Regions from separate parts of the Homo sapiens genome. Here region 2 is linked to region 1. The links are contacts of gene promoters, found by promoter capture Hi-C in human tissues and cell types (Jung and others, 2019). All regions are on one chromosome and are shown on one strand. The core of a region is centred on a gene start or on the middle of the fragment in contact, and the rest is flanking DNA. Distances in the headings are between cores, read along the strand shown. Region 1 holds the start of ZNF7 (zinc finger protein 7). Region 2 holds the start of RECQL4 (RecQ like helicase 4).

Region 1 (4,486 bases), core at 531-3,030:
GCAGGGCCAGTTTCTACGTGTTTAGCAATAGGGTTGATTGTGTTTTCAAGCAACCTAAACAGCTTTATCAGGGAATGTGCCCGGCCCCATTGAACTGGGTTCAAGGCTGCAGGGAACACGCAATGGCCAGGTCCCAGAGCAATCAAAGGACTCTGTGTTTCTCAATCAGTAGAGAAAGAAAAGGGGGAACTGGAAGACCCTGTGAATCCCAATCTCAGCTAGGGATGAGCAATCCAGGCTGGCCCAGAGCATAAGCACCGTGACCATGTGAGGGCCTGAGTGTGCCTGGCTTTGGAGGGTCTGCTTGCTCAGTGGCCTCTAGACTCAGCCGGGCAGTGGATGCAGTGGATGGAGGAAGCCCCCTCGCCCCAGACAGGACCTCAGGGCCTCAGAGCCCTGGCATCTGCACCCTGGACACAAGGAAGGTGCCTATGAGGTGGATGCTCTAGCCAGGCTTTCTCCCCCTCCTGCTCCTGTGTTACCCTGGTGTGCCCCCCTCACCTGCAGCAGGCCAGGTTGGGGCATAGGGTTGCCGGCCCCTACCAGCCCTGGGGGTCTGGAGGGCGGCTGGGGAAGCAGACCCCCTGTCCTTCCCTATCCTTCGCGACATGCTCCCTGAGCAGCTGCAGTCCACTTAGATGACCAGAGAGGATGTGGGGCTGAGGGAGCCGAACTCGGGGCAGCAGGGGCGGGGGTGGGAGTGCCGGGATCATCCGCACCGGGAGAGGCGAGGCCGGCGTCTGTTTTTCACCTGGGCCTCCCTGGGGGGCTGGGGGCTGCCTGACTCTTCCCTCCTTTGGTTTGCGCAAGTTTTCCCGCGCGGGTTCGGATCAACACGCCGGGGGAGCCCGGCTTACGTCCCTCCTGGACCCCCGCCCCGTTCTTCCCGTGGGGAGGGGCGCGTCAGGCGGACCTGGCACCCTCCGGCTGCTGGGCTTCGCCGGGAGCCACGCGGGGAGGTCCAGGCAGTCGGGACGCAGGCAGCGTCCTCGCCGAGGCTGCGAGTCCGTGGCCGTCCGGGGGAGGCGCGCAGGCTCTGCCGGACGCAGAAGGAACCCGAAGGAGGCGGGGTGGAGGGCGGTGCGGGGCCGGGGAGGGGCGAGGCGAGTGGCGAGTGGACGCCGGGCCCGGCCTCGGGCAACTCCGAGGGGCGCCCTTCCTCGGGGTCCCGGAGGCTCTGCGACCCCGCGGCCGCTCCAGCCGCTCACTGGGGACAAGGCCCGAGCCAGGCGTCTCCGCGAGGCGGGGTCCATAGCGCGCCCAGCAGGCGCCTCCTGTCGCAGGGACGCGGGGGAGCGGCGCCTGAACAGCCTCGGTGGGAACCAGCGCCCGAAGCTGGTGATCCGGGGTGCGCAGGGCCCAACCGGGCGATCCCCTGGATCTCCGCCAGCCTCGCCCCGACTCCGCTCCTCCCACCCGCCAGCGAGTCCGCAACTCCCGGCCCCGGCCCGCGTCCCCAGCTCCAGGCCCCGGCCCCGCCCCGCCCCTGCTCAGGCACCGCCCACTCCGGGCTCTGGGCCCTCCTCTCCCTCGCGGCTCCGCCCCCTGCCCGCCTCTGACTGTACCCCGCCCCCAGGCGCCAGCCCCGCCTATCTGGGCTTCTGGTCCCGCCCAGGTTCTTGTCCCTCGGGCCCCAGCCTCGCCCCTCCTCGGCTCTGACTCCACCCCTTCTCCGGAGCCTGGGAGGCGGGGCTGAGAACCACAGAGATGGCCGGGCCTCCGAGCGGCCCAGGGCGGCCGGAAGTTTGCGGGGCGGGGCGGACGCGGGTGGCCAAGGCCCGTTTCCGGCGGCGTCGCGCGTTTGCGAGCCTCGGGTGGTCCTCAGGGAGGGTGAGTCGGCGCGGCGGGCGCGGACTCGGGTTGCCCTCGGTCCGAGTGATCCCTGGTCGCTTCCTTAGCCCTCCCGCCTTCGGCATTGGGGTCCCCGCGTCCCCCGGGCCTCCAGGCGGGAAAGCGCGGGGGCTTTGCGGGGCCTTGAGCGCCTGGTGTGGGAGGTGGTCGAGCCCAGCCACCCTCCCCCGCGGCGGCGCGAGGTGGGCTTCGTTTGGCCGAGTCTCGCAGCTCCCCGCAGACCCCGCTCGTGGCGGCCACGGTGTCCGGGGCCTGAGTAAGGCGAGCTCCAGCTGCGGCCTTTTCTTCAGGCCTGGGTCTACTCCCGGGGCCCTGACTCCTCCTGCGAAATCACCTCCTTCTAGAGCCTTTTCTCTTTCTATTTATTGCCCCGGAAGGCCTAGGATAAGTGACAGTGGAGGAAGGAACGGTGCCTTGGGTGGGGTAGGCTGTTTGTCTTCTCTAAATTCTGGTTGCTATTCCGGGCATTCCTACTGTCAGGAGCCAGGTGGGGGGATCAGCCTACCTGTGCCGGTGACCTGGGGCTTCCACCCACAAACCACTTTCTGGGCCAGAAGCTGCCATACGAAGACTCTTTTTCCCATTCCGACCTCCCGGGGGAATGCCTGGGCAGGTAGAGGGTCTGGGGTCATTGGCTTAATTGAGGTGAACGATTTATATCAGATTACATCCCTGTGCCTGGTTCCATCCTGGCGACAGGTGAGCTGGAGACTGGAATTTATGTACTTGAGGGCAGGGGTTTCCATGTCCACTCTTGTCTTCCCTACAGTTTGTCATTTTTGCTCCTGCCTTCTCCAACCTCCAGTCGCTCACTGCCTTCCCCAACCTCCAGTCGCTCACTGCCTTCCCTTGCTGCCGGGAATTTACCCACACTGGTTCATCCAACCCCATTTCTTCTTGCTTCAGGCCCTTTCACATGCTATTCCTGCTGCCTGGAGTGCTCTCTCCACCTCCATTACCTTGGCCGAGGTCCCTGGGGAAGTGACCCATTACACTGAACGTTCTAGTCTAAGTGGCTTTCATAGTTCCCTGTACTTGAGCGCTGTCGTGGTTGCAGTGTGCTTATTTGTGTGGTTATTTAACTCTTTCCTCCGCCAGACTGCTTCGTGAAGGCAGGGTCCTCGTGTCCACTACTGTATCCCCATTACTCAGTGCCTGGCACGTGGCATCCACTTCTTACGGCTTTGTGGAGTGAGTCACACATGCCACACACACATACACTCTAAAGAGGAACAAGAGTTCAGTGGGCCTCCTTCACTCAAGTGCCATGGCTGCTTCAGCCCAGCCCCATGTCCCTGCTAGAGAAATCTGGGGCTGGAGGTAAAGGAGCAGAGAGCACAGTACCCCCTTGATTAGCCTGGAAGTTGGGCTTCTGGCACCTTGACCTCTAATCCTTTCATAATTGCCAACAGGTCTCTCGGCCAGAACACGTGGATGCCCACCCACCACTGAGCCTCATGGTAGGAAGCTTGACTGCCTCCTTCCCCTCGCATGTCCTGTGAAGGCCCACCTCCTGCTCTGCCCACTGGCCCTGGGCCCAGACCCTACCTTGGCCCTTGCTGGGCTTAGGAAGGCCCCCTTGCCCCCAACCCCAAGGTAGTGAGCAAACCCCTGCCCAAACCAGGGCCTAATTGAGGCTCTTGAGGGGGGAGGGTTGTATGACCACCATGGACTGGGTTCCTTCCTCCTCCCCGAGACTGCCCCTCCCCAGAATATTAGAGGCAGAGGAGTCCTGGTGAGCGTCTCGCCCAACCCCATGGGGCAGCTGCCTGAGACATGTCATGAGGCAGCGCCAGAAGGGGGCTGGCACCCAGGGATTCCTGGGGTGCTGGTGTGTGTCCTTTCAGGAGGTGGTAACATTTGGCGATGTGGCTGTGCACTTCTCTCGGGAGGAGTGGCAGTGTCTGGACCCTGGCCAGAGGGCCCTCTACAGGGAAGTGATGCTGGAGAACCACAGCAGTGTGGCTGGACTAGGTGAGGCTGCACCTTGGGGCCCCTTCCCCTGCATCATCAGTCAGCACCCACCCAGCCAGGCCTCCATCAGAGGCTGGGGTATGCAGGCCAAACGCTCAGACCCTTGTGGGCTCCACAGGGGGCTTGGACTCATGAGTGGTGTGCCAGGCTGGTTCCTAGCTTTGCCCATGTCATGGGGTTCAGCCCCCAGGGAGTGGGTGGGATTCTGGGAGTTAGTAAAGCCTCTTTTTTTCCTAAGCTGTTAAATTGTGAGAAATAGAATCCAAACTTGAAATAGCTTAGACAAGAAAAGAGAAATTATTGGGTGGAGAAATCCAAGGAAAAGGTTGTGCAACGAGCAAGAGGTGGCAGCGACGCCCACACGGCTGCTTTGCAGATGCCGTCATCCCCTTGCCCCTCCTGTCCTGCCGTTAGTCTCCTCTCTGAACTCCACCACCGCCACAGGCAGCCACTGCGGTGCTCTTTATGTCCATGCCTGTGTCCTCACAAGCTGTATACTGTCGTTGGATTGCAACTTGGTGAGGGGGGGTGCGTCTTAACTTGGGCCTTGCTGGGCCTCTTGCCTGTGACTAAGCCCTCTGCTGCATCACACGCCCGAGAGAGTGCCTGGGCTGGGGGATCAGGAGTGGAACTGACGCGGGCATCGTTGGTTGGCCAGGAG
Region 2 (4,486 bases), core at 217-2,716, 310 kb before region 1:
CTCCCCACACGGATGCTGACTTCTTGGAAGGCTGAAGCCTCTGGGCCCTGGGAGCCAGCACCAGGACCAAGGACAGCCGACTCACCAGGGATCAGAAGTTGTGATTCCTCTGAGCCTAGATCAGGCCTGCAGGCTTTGGGGGCCCCCAGAAAATCTGGGACCTCACTGTGACATCGCTGTAACCAGCCAGGATCTAGGGAGCCCAGCCGCTGGCTCAGGGATGCCTGCAGATGCTGGAGCCGGCCTGGCCTTGGCTGGGGCTCAGGGAGCTGTGGAGGCTCATCACTGACTTTTTCTGCAAAGGAGGGGACAGGCCCTGTACCTGGGGGCTTTGGGGTGGATGCCTTAGATGAGGCTCTTCCTAGAGGCCACGGTCTGCGGCCCAGGGCTGGTCCGGCCTGGGAGGGGAACAACAGAACAGCAGGAGGAACTCAGGCCCCTGAGCTACTGTAGACTCTAAAACCTACCTGAGTCCCCACGCTCAATTGTAGAGCAGGCTAATTAGCACAAGGCTGGACTAGAAAGGGAGTCAAGGGCGAAGGCCCCGAGAAGCTCCCTGAAGACTCGTGCCCTGGTTGGCACAGGGGCCCGTGCCTGTCTGTGTGGAAAAAATGACAAGAGGGCGACCCGGACCGGAAGCAGCTGTGGACCTAGCGTGGACTCACTGCCTGCCCACTCCTCACCTGCAGGGTGCCTTTCAGATTGGCCTTGAGCCGCTGCCCGTAGTCCGGCACCGAGCCCTGGCGGCTCCGCCCTGGCGTAGACTGTGGACTCTTGGTCGCAGCCCGATTCAGATGGGGCCCCCAGCAGCGGGGCTCTGGCGCCTGCAGGAGACAACAGGGGCACAGGCCAGAAAAGGCTGTTGTGGCGGCAGAAGCGCTCCCAGCCACCCCTCCCGCACCTGGAGCGAGGCCCGGCCCTTCTTCACTTTGCCCAGTCCCCCTCCCAAGTTCTGTGCCCCACGGCGGCCTGGCCGCGACTCCGTGGCTCCCGCCACTCCGCCAAACAGGGAAGTGGGAGGAGGCTGGGGCGGCGGGGCCTGGGTACCTCTTCGGCCGCCGCGGGGAGCGACTCGGAGCTGCGGAGCCCGCCGCCGGCCTGGCCCGTGGTACGCTTCAGAGTGCGGTATTCCCGGTAGAGCGCTGCGTGGGCGAGCGGGAGGCGGGGTCAGGGTGGGGCCTGGGCCCCTGCCGACCCGGTGTCTTCTCGCCCCCGCCGCCCCGCCGCGCGCTCACCGCGGGTCTCCTCCGGCGCCGCCTCCACGTCGTCCTGTAAAGGGAACGCGTCAGCCGCGGGCCGCGCCCTCAGCCCCTCGGCCCCTGGGCAGCCCGCACCTGGCTCGGTCGCCGCCCGCGCTGCCGTCGGAACGCGCGCTCCCACGCCTGCAGCCGCTCCCGCACGTCCCGCAGCCGCTCCATGGCGCGCGCGCCCGCCCGGCCTCCGCGCTTGCGATCGTCCAGCGAATCTCCCGCGCAGCCGTCGCGGGGGCCGACAGCCAATGCGGATGCGCGGCGGGCCGGGGGCGGGGCCACCGCCCCTGGGCAGCCAGTCCGTCGGGCCTCGGACAAGCAGCCAATGGGAGGCGTCAACGTCATCGCGGGGCGCCGCGGCGCCGGGCGGGGAGCGGCGGACGGTCTAGGCGGGGCTGGAGGCGGTGGCTGCGGTTGCGGGACCGGTGAGCGCGGGCGGCCGGGGGGGTGTCTGAGCGGGGCGGCGCACGCCCCTGGCCCTGCCTGGCCTCAAGGGGCGGGGCACCGGTCGCTCGGGGCGGCCTGGCCGAGGGAGGCAGTGGCTGCATTTGGGAGCCCGGGGCCGAGGCCGGGAGCCTGGGAGGTGCCACCGCGGGCCGGGAAGGACTGGGAGTCCCCGGGCCGGTCGGAGCGGCGTCAGGCCCTGGTGGGAGACGCATCCGACCTGGAGGAGCAGGCCCCGCTCGGGAGGCGAAAGAGCGGAGGGTCCAGCGCCTCCCGCGGCTCGAGGCCCGGAGGAGCCGGGCGGGGGCGTCTTCGCGAAACGCAGGCGACCGAGGACCGTCGCGTTCCCTGCGGCCGGCGGGAGGGGAGGGGGCGTCGCACGGAGGTGCCTGCCTCCCTTGGTGGGCAGGCCGTCTGCTTTGGTGTTCTCCCGTGACAAGTGCTCGGTTGGTCTGTCCTGTCAGAGCGAGTATGATCGTTGAGATCTGTCCACCGGCAGAACTAGGCCGAGGGTTGGTGTCTGGGACTTTTCAGGAACCGGTGCCTTAAGGACTTACTTGTATGTGGAAAAGTCGACAAAAAGAAGGGCCTTGGGGCCAGAGTGTCTTCCCCGGCCCCCTTCCCTGGCTTGTCACTCAGGCTGTGACCTTGGGCCAGGCCGAGGCCTTCATTTTCTAATCTGTCACAGGGAGATGGCTGCGATTTAGTTTTGAGGATGCTACAGGCAGCAGCAGGGCTGGCACCCTGTGTCACAGGTACCTTGTGGCCTTGGGAGTGTTTGTGCATCTCTGCAGCTTGGGTGCTGCTGAGGCAGCTTTCTTTGCCTTGTCTGAGCAGTCTGTAGCTTTGCACCTTCTGAATCCCACATACTTAAGACTTGGTCTTTCCACAGTGGCTCTCCAGGGAAGAGGGAGAGGTTTAGGCCAGTGGTAAGGGCCAACAAAGGTGAGGGTTGCTTTCTTTCGGGGTCTCCGTGCTTGGTGACGCTCTGGAGAATAGTAGCTTTTGCGGGGGCTTGTATTTTATAGGCTACATCATCTGGACTCGGTGTTCCCTGGGTCTCGGTCTTTTCAACCTGCCTTGTTGCTTATGAAGCTGCTTCTGTGCTTCCAGCTCTTTGGTGTTTTGTGGAGTCCAAGTGTAGCCCTGGAGAGCATCTGTGAGGAGAGGGGAGGGAAAGGTGATTTGGCTGCTTGACTCCTTAGAGTGTCCCGTCAATACTAATGCTGATGAAGGTTGGTGGGGAGAGTCCTGGGCTTTATTCAGGTTTCGAAGAAGGTTTTGTGAAGCAGCTTTGTAATTTGAGAGGCCTGAAGTACCCATGGGGGGCCCTGCAAGGCAACAGGCATCTGTCAAAAGCATACCCAAGCAAGCGAGTTGTTGACGATGCCACACTGCTTGACGCTTAGTTTCTCTAAAGAGATCCTGTGCATCTGGAGGGCTGGGGCTGAGTTGTGAGTTTGTCTGCCAGTTCACTGCACCCAGCCCAGCGCTAGGCATCTAATAGGTGCTTCTCTGTGCCATGGCCACTGCTAACTGCTGACTTTGTTTCAGGCACTATGCTGGGCCTTCCTACCACTTGTGTGTGGCTTGGTAGTGGCCTAGGGTCTCTCCTCCCTGCTGAAGTCCCTCTCCTGCAGGTGGCCGTCTGCCCGGCCCAGCACCATGCACACGCTTGTGTTCTTGAGCACACGGCAGGTGCTGCAGTGCCAGCCAGCTGCCTGCCAGGCCCTGCCCTTGCTGCCACGCGAACTCTTCCCCCTGCTGTTCAAGGTGGCCTTCATGGACAAGAAGACAGTGGTACTGCGCGAGTTGGTACACACGTGGCCCTTCCCGCTGCTCAGTTTCCAGCAGCTGCTACAGGAGTGTGCCCACTGCAGCCGTGCCCTCCTGCAGGAGCGGCCTAGCACTGAGAGCATGCAGGCTGTTATCCTGGGGCTGACTGCCCGGCTCCACACCTCAGAGCCTGGGGCCAGCACACAGCCCCTCTGCAGGTATGGACTTATCTGGAGGGTCGTCAGGCCAGGGGTGTGTAAGTGGGTCCCCTGAGGAGGCTTGGGTCATAAAGTTAGCAAGAGCTCATGCAGGAGCAGGCGCGTTGCTCCTGTCCCAAGGTGGCTGGGAGGGGGTATGGGCGCTGCCCCTCCACCCCTTCCTCACACCATTCCTACTCCCAGGAAGCATGCGCTGCGGGTGCTGGACATGACGGGCCTCTTGGATGATGGTGTGGAACAGGATCCTGGCACCATGAGCATGTGGGACTGTACTGCTGCCGTAGCTCGCACATGCATTGCCCAGCAGCAGGGTGGGGCCGCAGAGCCTGGGCCAGCCCCCATCCCCGTGGAGGTGCGCGTGGACCTGCGGGTGAACCGGGCCTCCTATGCGTTCCTGCGGGAGGCACTCCGAAGCAGCGTGGGCAGCCCGCTGCGGCTCTGCTGCCGGGACCTGCGAGCTGAGGACCTGCCCATGCGCAACACTGTGGCCCTGCTGCAGCTTCTGGATGCAGGCTGCCTGCGCCGCGTGGACCTGCGCTTCAACAATCTGGGCCTGCGCGGCCTGTCTGTGATCATCCCACACGTGGCCCGCTTCCAGCACCTGGCCAGCCTGCGGCTCCACTATGTGCATGGGGATTCAAGGCAGCCCTCCGTGGATGGCGAGGACAACTTCCGCTACTTCCTTGCCCAGATGGGCCGCTTCACCTGTCTGCGTGAGCTCAGCATGGGCTCCTCTCTCCTTTCAGGGAGGCTGGACCAGCTGCTCAGGTGAGCGGGCCCCACCACTGCCCTGCCCCT

What was found. Contacts are between HindIII fragments. The study calls those that stand out against the background at their distance.
Region 2: a contact is called between the fragment with the promoter of RECQL4 here and the fragment with the promoter of ZNF7 in region 1, in 1 of the 25 tissues and cell types used here (dorsolateral prefrontal cortex).

Annotation. Positions count from the first base shown.
Region 1 is chr8:144,825,780-144,830,265 of GRCh38, forward strand. It overlaps ZNF7 (zinc finger protein 7), which reads left to right and starts at 1,781. Exons shown (of 5, transcript NM_003416.4): 1 at 1,781-1,830; 2 at 3,264-3,311; 3 at 3,699-3,825. The coding sequence starts at 3,309. It overlaps LOC100130027 (a long non-coding RNA gene), which reads right to left and starts at 1,261. Exons shown (of 5, transcript NR_147501.1): 1 at 1-1,261. RefSeq lists a silencer at 972-2,101 and enhancers at 1,433-1,958, 1,959-2,484, 2,485-3,010. The HindIII fragment of the contact is 13,991 bases long and covers 1-4,416 here.
Region 2 is chr8:144,516,367-144,520,852 of GRCh38, forward strand. It overlaps RECQL4 (RecQ like helicase 4), which reads right to left and starts at 1,467. Exons shown (of 21, transcript NM_004260.4): 1 at 1,335-1,467; 2 at 1,236-1,269; 3 at 1,048-1,142; 4 at 684-824; 5 at 1-398. The coding sequence starts at 1,418. LRRC14 (leucine rich repeat containing 14) reads left to right here and starts at 1,626. Exons shown (of 4, transcript NM_014665.4): 1 at 1,626-1,675; 2 at 3,249-3,688; 3 at 3,872-4,456. The coding sequence starts at 3,360. RefSeq lists silencers at 1,072-1,821, 1,912-2,081 and an enhancer at 4,305-4,486. The HindIII fragment of the contact is 29,803 bases long and covers 1-4,486 here.